2 separate regions of the Homo sapiens genome follow, and region 2 is linked to region 1. The links are contacts of gene promoters, found by promoter capture Hi-C in blood cells and fetal thymus (Javierre and others, 2016). All regions are on one chromosome and are shown on one strand. The core of a region is centred on a gene start or on the middle of the fragment in contact, and the rest is flanking DNA. Distances in the headings are between cores, read along the strand shown.

Region 1 (6,900 bases), core at 564-3,063:
TGGAAAAACGGTCAGTGTTAACAAACTTCAGCACCACGTGTGTGGGTGTGCGCATGCGCACACTGTTACACTAAACTGTATTCGTTATTAGGTAATTCAAGTAAATGGTTACATATCCATAGGTGTCCTGAGTAGCTTGAAATAATCTCCTTACCTCAGGATGGTGATTCTACATAGAAACCCATGGCAGGGGAAGCAGGAAACAACTTTCTTTTAAAGAAGAGAATGCATTAAAATAGTATAAAGCTAAATCAAATGGAACTGTTATGACAAACAGTTTGGGAAGTTAAATAATCTCCTTTTCCTATTTTAGACTTGTATAAGTTCAAAATAATCTTTAAGATATTCACACTAAATTGTTACCTATATAGTATCTTTTAATGCAAAAATATACAGTATAATTGAATATAATATCACTTTTATTGAATGCATGTCTTTCAATCTCTTTTAATAATCTCTTTTAATAAATGCTTACAAGGCTTTTGTTTTATGAGTTTTATTCCTCCTTGAGTTGAGAACACAGTTTCTTAAATTTGACCATGAACATTCCATTGAGAGACTGATGATAAATTCACACGTAGCCTCCCTTTAACTGACGGACTTAAACTTGATCCATGGATTTGCACCACGAACTTCAAAAGATGAATCACTGCTGTAGATGTGATGGCCTAATTCTTCCAAATGTGGCTCAGGATCAGTGGTAGCAAACTGGGCAGCATCATCAATTTCTTTCCTCACCTCAGCCCCAATTTCCTTTAATTCTTCCACAGTGGCGAGCTTGCTGTTTACCATTCTATCTTGGAGAATTATTATAGGATCCCTCTTACTTCTTACTTCCTGAATTTCTTCTCGTGTACGATAACTGACTCCAGGATCACTCATACTGTGTCCATGATAACGGTAGGTTTGCAGCTCCATCAGTATGGGCCCCTTTCCAGATCTACAGTAGTTAGCTGCAAATTTTGTTGCCTCACGAACACACAGAACATCCATTCCATCGACCTTTAGCCCAGGGATAAAATTGCCCCTCTTGTAGTAATCAGGGCTGGCTGCTGCTCTCTCAGTAGATGTTCCCATTCCATATAGGTTATTCTCACAGATGAAAACACAAGGTAATTTCCATAAAGCTGCCATATTGAAAGCTTCGGCTATCTGCCCCTGATTCGCAGCGCCATCCCCATATAAAGTCAAACAGATCTCATCGTTTCCTTTATATTTACAGGCCAGAGCAATGCCAGCGCCCAGGGGGCCCTGTGCACCGACGATGCCATTGCCCCCATAGAAGTTCTTGGTATACATATGCATCGATCCTCCTTTTCCTTTAGCACAACCTCCTCTTCTTCCCGTCAGCTCTGCGAGAATGGATCGGACAGAAAGTCCCCGAGTATAGCACACACCATGAGCCCTATAGGATGTAATGACGTGATCCGAGGGGTTTATGCCGGCCTCAAGGCCCACGCAACAAGCTTCCTGACCATCGCACAGGTGACAGAAACCGCGAATGAATTTCTGTTTGTACAGCTGATCTGCCTTCAATTCCATGCGGCGAACAGTCAGCATCATCCTGTAGTATTTAAGCCCCTCCGCCCTAGTGAGCACTGTAGTGACAGGGGGACCCTCTTCCAACAGATAAAGATCACATTTCTTAATTTCAAATGTAGCGTCATTTGAGGAGTTACGGGATGCCACCAGCACTCTGCGAGCTGATTTCTGGGCAACTCGCCTCAACACGCGGGAGATGAAGGCGGCCAGCATATTCTTCACGGAGTGCTGTAGATGGCAGCGGCGTCCCGTAACGACCGCCGGAAGGCCTGGCCTCGGCTCCGCGTCTCCTTCCGGTGCTCCAATGCGCTTGGCACCATCCGGGCAGTGCACACGGGTGATAGAGGCAGGTCCTGCACAGCACTGGGACATGGGCCACGCAGCCTGAGCTGACTGATTTGTACAGTGCCTGCCAGCTGTAAAATGAAGACTAAAAGTGATTTCCTTTTCTGGAGGACTTGGGCAAACTACAGGGCATCCTAATCGCCGTCATTGCTGAACCTCAATAATCTGAGTCCCTTTTCCCTGTTAAACCCTGGAGCACTGTATCTCAAGCTTTCCCGACAAGCGTATCAAATAGAAGAAAGGAACAAACTCAGTCCCTAAGGCACATGAGAGTTCTGAGAGTTAGTCCAAAGGTATTTCTTCCTACCAATATTTCTTTAATGTCTTGTTTTTGATCTTTAAAATAGGTATGAATATTTATCCTGCTCCATAATGTGCCATATGTATTTTAAGGTAACAACAAAGCTGTAAATTATTTGTAGCTTAATTAACTTTAAAAACAAAACAAGCACACGCACGTTAACAAAAACCCCTTTTAAAGAAAAGTCAGTACTCTCAAATAATATGCCACATTTATCCTGATGGCGTCTAGCACCTGTGACACTTGAAGTGGGGAGGGAAAATGTATACAAACCTCGGCCTGAGGATAACACTTTAAACCCAGTAATAAACTTTGCTTGGTGTGGGAAAATTGGAAGCAGGGAGAGAGGGTTGAGGTGCAGATTGTGGTAAAAAGTTTGTAGTTTGTGACATTCCACTTTTCCTTACTCTGTTTAATAATTCTGAATCTCTGTTTTTACCTAGTTTTATCCCTATTTTCTGACTACTTCACTTTTGCTCTTCCTTTTGTTTATTTCCTCTTTTTTTTCTTTTTGGTTTTCTATAAAAATGTCTTCAGCAGGTTTCCATAGACTTTCAGGTGGTATTTATTTATTTATTTATTTATTTTGCTTTCATATCAATCAAACTGGACCAGCCTTAGTCCAGGAAATCTAGAAACATGTTCTTATAGTGCCTTTTTATGTAGTAACCATTAGAAAGTGTTACTTCTTATAAAGTGACCCACCAAACAATACACAGTTTGGACTACAAGAGAGCAACAGAGTTTGCTTATGCCACTGGAAACCGTTCAATCACAAGAGAAGAGAAGCCTTAGACCAAGGGATACAAAGATCACATATCATTTCTCTCTTTTTGTGCTTTTACCAGGAAGGCGATTTTGTGCCCCAATAAGCCAACCCTAACTAGGGATCCTGTTTTATTTAGAATATTAAGCCATTCACCTTAATGCATGCTCTGTTTTATATCCATTGCCTATTTGCAAATGATAAATTCTTACCCAAATGTCCCTATTACATGTTCAAAGCAGCTGCCTTCTCTATATCTAGTTGCAGGTGTTATTTTGGGCACTTCTTTTAATATTCAGGAAGAAAAGAGAAAATAGCTTGTTAAAAAGTTAAGATACCTCTTAAAACTTGATCGTCTCCCCACCTTCTGAACCCAGCCATCATAATAGGCCTCATCTTTTCACTCAATTGAAAATTCAACTGTTGGAATTCATGGTCTTGCTGTGTTGTTTGCTCCCTCTTTGATAGTTAGCCTGTCTCTGCTGTTCTCTTTCATTCCTCCAGGTATTGGAGATCTCCAGGGAGCATTATCTCCATAAGAATGAGAAAAATGACACTGCAGGATAGAACAGTAGTGTTAATGGGTCAGTGAGTGACAGCTGAGCCTTCTCTCAGAGGTATCAGCCAGGCCAGTGCTGCCAGGAACACAAGAGCTGTACAGTAAAGTGTGCCAATTTAATCTTGTCACACGTAGCCTGGACTGCAAAGATAGAGCTCCCCTTAAAAGCCCAGTGTGTCAAGCCTAAACCCGACTCATGCCAGAAGAGAACATACAAAGATGCTAATTGGAAAATATCTGTACTACGGGTTCCCACAGAAGATGTCCTTTAAAAAAAAAAATTTCTCAACAGGATCTAGTTAAGATAATAAATAATAAAATGTGAAACTCCCATAGACCTCTTGGTCATCAGTTACCCTATATATCCTAAATTCAACTTAAAAATAGACATCTGAAATCAAACAATGTTGAAGCATTTCAATTAAACTGATTAATCTTGATAATGACTTTTTGACTTTTATTGCTATCCTTCCAAATCCATCTACATTTTTCAAAGAAAGAATGAAATTTCCAGACATCAGGGTAAAATGTTTATCCTGAGCTGTTGAGCTTCTCCTCTTACATGCCCCCCAGCTAGATAGGATTCAAGCTATTCACGGACAATAGAGCCAATGATGGTGTTCTTTTCTTCAAATGATTTATTTTTTGTCCTGTCCTTGTTCAATACTATGTTGATTACCAAACAGAACTAAGAAGTCATCTACGTACTCACCACAGAAATGTTATTTGCAATTAGAAACCCCATAAATTCTAAGTTTTTAATTAACACCAAATCTCACTTTTAATCTACTTGAAATTAAAGGAAAACAGATGAGCACTCTTATAAGGCCAATGGCAGACTTTACATTTAATTAATAAAAACCCCTATAAAAGAAGAGCCAGTGATTATAGTAGCAGTCATTCATGCCAGTGTGACAGCATTTCACATTTCATGTCTGATGGTTGATCCTACAGGGGTATTTCTGAATTTATCTTAAAAGTGTCACTCCCATGGCATCAATAACACATATTTTTTAAATAATAGACAAGGAAATGTGAAAAAGAACAGTGAGAATGTTTGAAGGATATTTACATTTCTTCAGTAATTATTGCACTTTTTCACCAAATGTTAGGTGAAGAAAGCTGTTAAAGAGTGAATATTTTCTAGATAAGCAATATCAGATCTCATTAGATGATTAGTGGCAGTGTATTTTTTTCATAGCTCTAAGATTTGGCAATTAAGAGTGATGAGTAAGAACTTAGTGCAAAAATTACAAGTTATATATATATAACTCTGAGAAGAATTTCTCTGTTGGAGAAAAGACACAATGTCAGTACCATATATTTTGAAAAATGATGACAATCAAGCAAAGTTTCTCTCTAATATTACAATAAGCAAAGCTATTCCAGAACACTTCAGAGGCTTGGGCAAACAATATTTTTTCTTGTATGATCTTACTATATTTGAAATATGATTAAAATAAAAATCCAGGATAGATTAATTCAAAGAGAAGACTTAATTAGAAATGAGAGGTAAAGTAGAAGTGCTTCTCATCCTACCCAGATAATGATGGTGTGAGAAAAAGGAAGACATTGTGGGTTAATTTTTAGTGTAACAGATGGACCACCATCTTTCTCCTGATAGATGACCGGAGTCATCTGAGTCATCATGCTCCTAGTGCTAAATCCACTATTTCAAGAGTTTGGGATGAGGGTCTAACATATATGATAAAAGAGATCATGAAGCAAAATTGTAAAATAAAACTTTGCGAACATTTTAATAACTTCTCTATAATTAGAGCTGTAATTGAATATGGCCAAGTGACATAAGAAGTAAAATTTTATGTATAAAATCTGTTGTCAAGATTTACTACAGTCTGGTGTCTCAACCAGTAGAGGACTAGAACATGAGTCAAGAGTTTTGAACTGATTCCTGCTCAATATTTTGAGTTGCTTTGTAAAACCACAATCCCCATTCAAAGGAAAAATCATTAATTCAATAAACATTCCTGACAAATCACAGCAGTTTCAAGAAAGTCCAAGTCAGAGTTAAATCTATTTGCCTGTTCTCCTAAAATCTTTACACTTCTTGGGCAAATCTTGTACTTAGCAGATTTTAATTCTCACATACTTAAAACCCCATGTCTCAAATTTTTATTCTGCAAATAAACATACATTTACCCCTAGTAACCTTGATTTTATTATACTAGCAATAAAGTATACACAAAATATGCTAGTAAAAATGAATGCTATATATTCAATATTGCAATGAGGGCTTCTCTCCTCTGTGCAGTCGTTTTAATATATTAGTTTCCTCTTAACTGTACCATGTTATTACGTTTTCTTTATATATGCCCTCCCACAACCCTTCTAATGACTTTTGGTGGAATATTAACTGTTTCTAATATCAGTATGCCCATGTAATAACAAAATTACCACGACTATTTCCTTTGACTTTGCCTCTTTGAAGAAGACCTAAGTCACTGACGGATGTTTAAAGAGAGAGGAAGGAATATTGGCAAAAATCCAGGGCACTGCTGCCCCCTAGAAGGAAGTTTGAGCAGCACATTTGACAAACACAAATCTTGAGAGAAACAGACTTTGAGGAAGATTGCTAATCATGCACCCCACTTTAAGAACCTACTGTTGACCACATCTTCAGTTTTCTTTGCCCTGTCTTACATCTAAGCTAGGGCACAGTGTTATCTATTACATCGTAAACTTAGACCTGTATAGATTCTGTCCAAATAGATTCATAGGAGATACCTGTGAATATGTACAGACATATAAGCACATTTTTCTTGGCAAATAATTTTTTTTAATAATGAGAATGAATTTTTCGATTATTACATGCATTAATTTGAGATATAAAACATCATAAATATTTCCCAGGTATGTGATAGAATAGACTTGCATCTCTTTCCTAGAGATACAAAGTTAAGGAAGTTTGTATCTCCAGGAAATACAGTTTGCTCATTTGACCCTCATATGGTTTAGTGTCTCATTCCCAATTTCTGGAAGAGGAAACTGAGGCCAAGGAATTAGGCAAATACAAAGCTAATTTAAAAAAGTAAAATATTTATTCTTCGTTTATTCATCATGTATGCATGAAGTGCCTTTCTTTTATATATCCCCTTTCTGTATTAAGTAGTAGAAGTACAATAATAACATACAATTAAATTTTCCTCTATTTAATCCAGTTTATATAGAGGTGTTGTGAGCTCTTCCAGATTTCCTGGCACTGCCTAGAGAAAAGGACAACTCATCATTGAAAGACAGAGGGAGAGACACATAAGCAGCTGTTATAGATGCAATAAAACTAATGTATTACATTCCAGGCAATGGTTAAAATGACAGTTTGTCTTTATTAGGATCAATGATGAACAAATTAAAAATAAAGTACTGTCA
Region 2 (6,603 bases), core at 3,779-6,278, 1.9 Mb before region 1:
AATGACTTACACAGCCAGTAACAGTTCTCAATACCAGCAGTGATCATTTTCAAAAGAGTAATGAAATAATGTACAACTCACCGTAAAAATAACGTTCCTAGGATTAAATAAGAAAAAACAATTTCATAAAGAGAATTTTTAAACTAATAATAGACATAGATAGTGGTCTGAATAAATGAAGAGCTATTCTAGGCACTTGAATGTGATGACTTTATATAGTCAAGATATCAGTTTTACTTTTCTTAATCTATAAATGTAACCCCACTTAAGATTCCAGTTGGATATTTTGAAGAAATTAATGATCTCATATAAATGTGTGTAAAAATAAAGGTATATGAAGAGCTTAAAAAAAGGAATAGAGAAGGGGAGAAATTCCAATACCATTTATTAAGACACACTGCAAATCTATATTAATAAAAACTTTGCGGTTTTGTCACAAAAGCAAGACAAATGGATAAGGAAACAGAAAATTCAGAGACAGATTAATGTATATGTGAAGACAATTTATTGTAAAGATGTCACTGCAACTCAATAGGTAAACAAAAATTATTTAGTTGACATACTGGGAAAACTGACAAACTTACTGATATGGTTTGGCTCTGTGTCCCCACCCAAATCTCATCTCAAATTGTAATCACCACGTGTTGAGGGAGGGACCTGGTTGGAGGTGATTGGATCATGGGAACAGTTTCCCTTATGCCATTCTCATGATAGTGTTATCACAAGATCTGATGGTTTAAAAGTGGCACTTCCCTCTTCATGCTCTCTCTCCTACTGCCTCGTGAAGAAGTGCCTGCTTCCCTTTCACCTTCCACCATGCCTGTACATTTCCTGAGGCCTCCCTAGCCACATGGAAATGTGAGTCAATTAAACCTTTTCTGCTTATAAATTACCCAGTCTCAGGCAGTTCTTTATAGCAGTGTGAAAATGGACCAATACATTTACCAGAGAAAATAAGATTAGATCCTTACAAAATACCATGCACAAAAATGGAATCTATATGGATTAAAGACCTAAATGGAAAGGTAAAACTACAAAGTTATTTGAAGAAAATATCAGTGAATACTGATTTTTTAATTAAAAAGAAATCAGATTCAGTGGGTACACTTGCATGTTTGCTGCATGAATATATTGCATAATGGTGGGGTTTGGTCTTCCATTGAATCCGTCATCCCAATAGTGAACACAGTATCCAATAAGTAGATTTTTACCCTTAACCCCTCCCTCCCCCCTTTTGGAGTCCTCAGTGTCTAAGAGAATACTGTTACAACCTAGAAAGTGGGGAAATACTTCTTACTAAAAACTCCAAAAGTAACGACTATAAAAAAAAAATCTAAGCTTAACTATTTTAAAACGAAGGATTTCTCTTCAACATTTGGCATCCTAGGAAAAGCTCAGTAGATGACAGAAAGAAGAAATATCTCCAATATTTAAAATTGGCAGGGACTCGGCCGGGCGCGGTGGCTCACGCCTGTAATCCCAGCACTTTAGGAGGCCGAGGCTGGCGGATCAAGAGGTCAGGAGATGGAGACCATTCTGGCTAACATGGTGAAACCCCGTCTCCACTAAAAATACAAAAAAAAAAAAAAAAAAAAATTAGCCGGGTGTGGTGGTGGGCACCTGTAGTCCCAGCTACTCAGGAGGCTGAGGCAGGAGAATGGCGTGAACCCGGGAGACTAAACTTTCAGTGAGCCGAGATCGCACCACTGCACTCCAGCCGGGGCGACAGAGCAAGGCTCCGTCTCAAAAAAAAAAAAAAAAAATTGGCAGAGACTCAAATATGGACTAAAGAAATTTATGATGTAAAGGAGAACAAAACAAGATATCCCAAAAGAAAATGAAAAAAGTATACAAAAGTGTTTTATAGGTCTATTAATTATTGCTTATTTTATTATTTTCAATAGAAATTCAACTTATTCCAGAAAGACTCATGTTCCCTCTTAAGACTCATCTATTCATTTTTATATTCAGAATATAAAAATGAATATATGTAGAATATCAAAATGAATGTTAACATTTTAAACCCTAAAGAATGACAATTATTCTAACAGACACAAAATAAAACCCCTCAAAAAGTGTGGCAATTATGTGACAAACACATAAGGCTCTGATTTTAATGATGAAGTTCTCTAAAAAGACTGGAGTTACAATTATCCAGTCATTTTTAAGGAAAGGATAAATTCATTTTATAAAACATATTGGCATGGGAAATAATGTAGTATCAGATTTCATCTAAGTGTAGAACTCACCATTTCCCCTCCAGGCTTAAGCAAATATTACATGAGTGAGGGCTCTTGTAAAATGTTATGTTTTGAAATAGATTTCATTAATGGCTTCTAGTGATAATTTATGTCTCATTTATACACAAGTCTTTTCTCATACTAATCATGGATAGCTTATTTGCATATAAATAGATTTCAGTATTTGCTGAAGCAAAGACCAAATATGCTTCTTTTTTTTTTTTTCCCCTCCTGGACATTGTTAAAAAGAAAAAAAAAGGAGGGGAGGGGGACATTGTGATAATTAGCAATCAGGATATATAATAATTTTCTTAATAAAAAATTTTTGTAGGCAACATTCTTTGGTGTTTTTATTGATATATTTCATGTCAAAGGTTGTGACCTCTATTAAAATTATAAAGAAAAACAATCTGCACAGTTTTTGCAGTGATATATGTTTTAAAAAGAGTATTTTGATATTGGTTGTTTAAATGTTTACTCTGAGTCTCTGGATACTGTCTCCTAATTAGGTTTTACAGTTTCTGATGTGTACCATGTTCTGTTTTAGAGAAGGTAAATGTAATTTTTGTAACTGTATTACTTAGCTAAATAAATTCTTTACTTCTGAGCTGTAACAAGTCATATGTTTATTGTATAAATATGTTTTGTTTATTTCAGTTAATAGTGTACAAATGCTAAGCTTTCGGTCATCATATAGTTAAAAATACCAAAATCTTAATTTTTTTTATTATAGAGTATACTTCCTTTCAAAATAAGTCTTATAATAAGAAGACCTTTTGAGTCTACTTTTATTTCAACTAACAATGGACATTAGTGAAGAAATAACAATTAACTCAATGTTTGTAAAAGATATCCATTTGATATTTGCTTCTTGACTTTCAGTATTTGAAATAGGATATGCTCCTGTATTGTTGCACTGTAAGTGAATAACCAACTTCCTCTTATGACACACAATATATCTGAGTAATTACTTGGGGAAATTAAGATAACAGCTGCTTTCTGGTAGATATGATGTCCATTAATATGTGTCTTTCTGACCAGCAGAGGTCACTCCGTGTAAAGTGAATAATGACTTCAGCTTTCAAAAAAGACAGCAAACATGACTGTTCTTTTTGAGCAATTCGTTTTTACTTGATTTCTGTTACTAGCAAAAAATGCTGTTTTCATCTCTTGCTATACGTGCTTGCCTAAATGAGTGAGGCTGTTCCTTGCAGTTGAAAGATTTTTCTAAACATGAAGGCAAAAGTATAATCCTGAAAGAAATGGTTAAGGCACTGTATTTAAATCTGTATGTTTTTGAATATTATACAGATGATTTCTAGTTAAAAATATGAGGGAGAAGATTGTCTCTTAGGGAAGACGTCACATTGCATTCTACCACAGAGAGGCAGCCTTCACCCAAAGATAGGATGTAGTGCTATTGGATTCTAGAAAAATAGCATTTAACTCTAGAATTTGTTTTATTGTTGTTTATAACAGGCTTTGAAAGTAGCAGTGTGTGGCAGCCTTGACAACTAGCAGTGTGGTAATATGGAGATTTGAAGACAACTTGATTTTTAGAATTGTGATATTTGTGCTTTCCTTAAATGTGTTTATACTTACAACTTTTAAAATATATGGGTAAAACAAAAATTACCTCTATTTTTGGTATGCTAGTGAATTAGTAATTAATTCAAAAAAAAATTCCCTAAATTTATCAACTATGCTTATTTATTCCATCTCCTAGACCCAGTTCACCTTTTAGAGAATTGTCATGCTGTGGTAAAAGCATAACATTGTCATTTGATTAATATGATATTTGTTTGGCAAATTTGATGGTTTTGGAGGTGCTGAGACATCTAATGGAGATTAAGAAGGCAGCATGAAGTAGTAAAAAGAGCTGTTAAAACCATAAAGTGAAGCCACAGCTCTGCTATTTAACTCTGTTTCCTGTGAAGTTTAAATAATAATTTTCCCCTTTCTACCCTCTCAGGGATATTCCAAGGATGAAAAGCAGGTACTTTGATCCTTACTCATTTTATAGCTTATGAAAGTTGTTTAACTTCTCTGAGCTGGTTTTTTTAATTTCTATTACAAAAGAGAAGACTAAAGGTGAGCATGATTTAGAGAATTAATCAAGGTCACATGGCTATAGAAAGCTTGAATTTCAATTTAGGTTTAAGATTTATTCTAGAAATAATAGGCTAAAATAACATAGAGATGAAAATATACTTGCAAGCATTGCCTCTTCAGTTATCATGAAGTAAGTTTGCCAATTTGGTCCAAGATTAAAATAGTATGACATCCACATAACAGAATTCATACTGAGTGAAGGATGTATACTGAAAAGAAAGTCTTTTTCCTAGCTTAATACTGCCAGCCTCATGTTAATCTCTTTCCTCCCAGGTAACAATTGCTCTAACATGTTTACAAATATTTATGTGATGTATCATCTAAATGCTATTTGCATATTATAAATAGAAATGCGACTTCAATCCATCTATTTCTTTTCATGGACAATTACTAAAAAGAAAGTAAAATGACAAGAAAATGGTTAAAATGCTTAAAGTCACAGAAGTAGATTCTAGGTAGCTTATAAATTGATTCTTCCTTTCTTGATTCAGTTCAGTTCAGCTCAATAAGCATTTATAGAGGCTCTACCGTAGGCAGGCACATAAGATTCAGATATATTTCAGAGAAAATTATAGTCTCATCCAGAATTTCGGAAGGTTTATTCTTTGTTTGGATCACTGGTTACCAAGATTATTTGAGAGAAAACTGATTTAAAGTATAAATATTTTTAAGAACAACAACACACTAAATTGTAGTTTAGAGGTCAAAACCAATGGGTTTTATTGAAATTGTTTTCTTGGTCCCACTTTCAGAGAATATGATTTATTATTTTGGGATGAATCCAAGGAATCTTCATTTTTACACTAATTGGGATGATTCTGATGTCTGTGGTCCATGAACAACATAAAATATATGATGCTGCATATGATTGTTTTTGTTTTTTAGTCTGATGTGTCATGCCCTACAACAAGTTCAGCCAGAGACCAGTGGAGTAACATTTCTAAAGCTATAGAAGGGTAGTGAATAAACCCTGTGAGCTGTAGGTACTAAAGCCAGATGAAGAATCCCTTAATTATTTGAAAGTAGACATTATTAATGTAAAAAATTCCACTGTTAGTTATCTTGGTTGTAATTAACCAGTGGTAGTCTTATCCAAAATGATTGAGACCAGAAGAGTTTCAGATTTCAAAGTTTTTGGATCTTAGATTTGCATTACTTATACTCAACAGTTCAACATCCCTAATCTGAAAATCCAAAATCTGAAATGTATCAATGAGTATTTTCTTTGAGCATCACGTTGATGCTTGAAAAGTTTCAGATTTTGGAGTACTTTGGATTTCAGATTTTTGGATTAGGAATATTCAGCCTTAGTTGATGAGAAGCTTTGAAAGGGAAGAATGCTGCTGAATTCTCACAGTAGTCTGCTGTCTCTTATTCTAGTAGGACATAGGAACAAGGTTAAGAATATTTACATTACATGATTACAGGATCATAGTGACCAAAGAATACTGTAAGGGTGAAGAAAAGCATTCTTATTTAGATTTAAATCTATATATAGATTTTGGTTCACTAAAAAGGAGGACAAAGGTTACTGAAATATTCAATGGTTAATCTAATAGTTCTTTTTTAATATCCAATGAATGTAAAAAAATTTTGATGACATCAAAGCATGAAAAGTATTGTATCATTCATTTCATCTATAACATATATTTGCTTTAGGCTACAGAATTTGTTCATTTAAGTTGTAAATGAAATATTAATCTTTGCTTAATTGGCTTCTCACTAAATAAATAATGTAGGCTCCTCTTTCTGGAAACTCTAAACTCTTTGACTCTAGCTTTTTCCTAGCAGACCTATACAGGTAAAGATGTTAGCAGCAGATTCAAATCCAAACATATTTAGAAACCTTACAATTTTTAACAAGTTGAGAAAATGGAAAATAGTCACAATTTAAATGGTATAAATTAGTGATTTTCTTTAATGTTTGTGAAGAATTTAGTTTATTTAAATCAAGTGTTTTAATTATTTTTAAAATAAAGTTGGTATTTTATTTAAAGGATTTTATGTGACTTCATCTGTGATGTGACATGTTTTAGCATTATCCTGATTTGTACATGTAATATTCCCAGAGATAAGTATCAGTCTTGACAGAGGGAATGCCTTGCTAAATAGAGTGGTGCTAATTTAGCCCTGAGAATGGTGATCTAAGGGAACTTCAAATATATGTTGAGACTTATTCTACTTTTTTGCCTTGATAATTTTCTTGGTAATATGGCTCCAAACCTTTATGTAAGAACTGTGAAGTATAAAA

The links. The method cuts DNA at HindIII sites, captures the fragments that hold promoters and counts their contacts. A CHiCAGO score of 5 or more calls a contact.
Region 2: a contact is called between a fragment that was not itself captured here and the fragment with the promoter of PDHA2 in region 1, in 1 of 17 cell types (megakaryocytes). The highest score is 5.7, in megakaryocytes.

What each region holds. Positions count from the first base shown.
Region 1 is chr4:95,835,006-95,841,905 of GRCh38, reverse strand. PDHA2 (pyruvate dehydrogenase E1 subunit alpha 2) reads right to left here and starts at 1,813. Exons shown (of 1, transcript NM_005390.5): 1 at 442-1,813. The coding sequence starts at 1,755. The coding sequence ends at 589. RefSeq lists enhancers at 1,295-1,794, 1,795-2,296, 3,152-3,754. The HindIII fragment of the contact is 631 bases long and covers 1,469-2,099 here.
Region 2 is chr4:97,717,958-97,724,560 of GRCh38, reverse strand. All of the region lies in intron 9 of STPG2 (sperm tail PG-rich repeat containing 2), which reads left to right. Among named protein-coding and RNA genes, the nearest start is that of STPG2-AS1, 350 kb to the right of the region's middle. The HindIII fragment of the contact is 1,296 bases long and covers 4,381-5,676 here.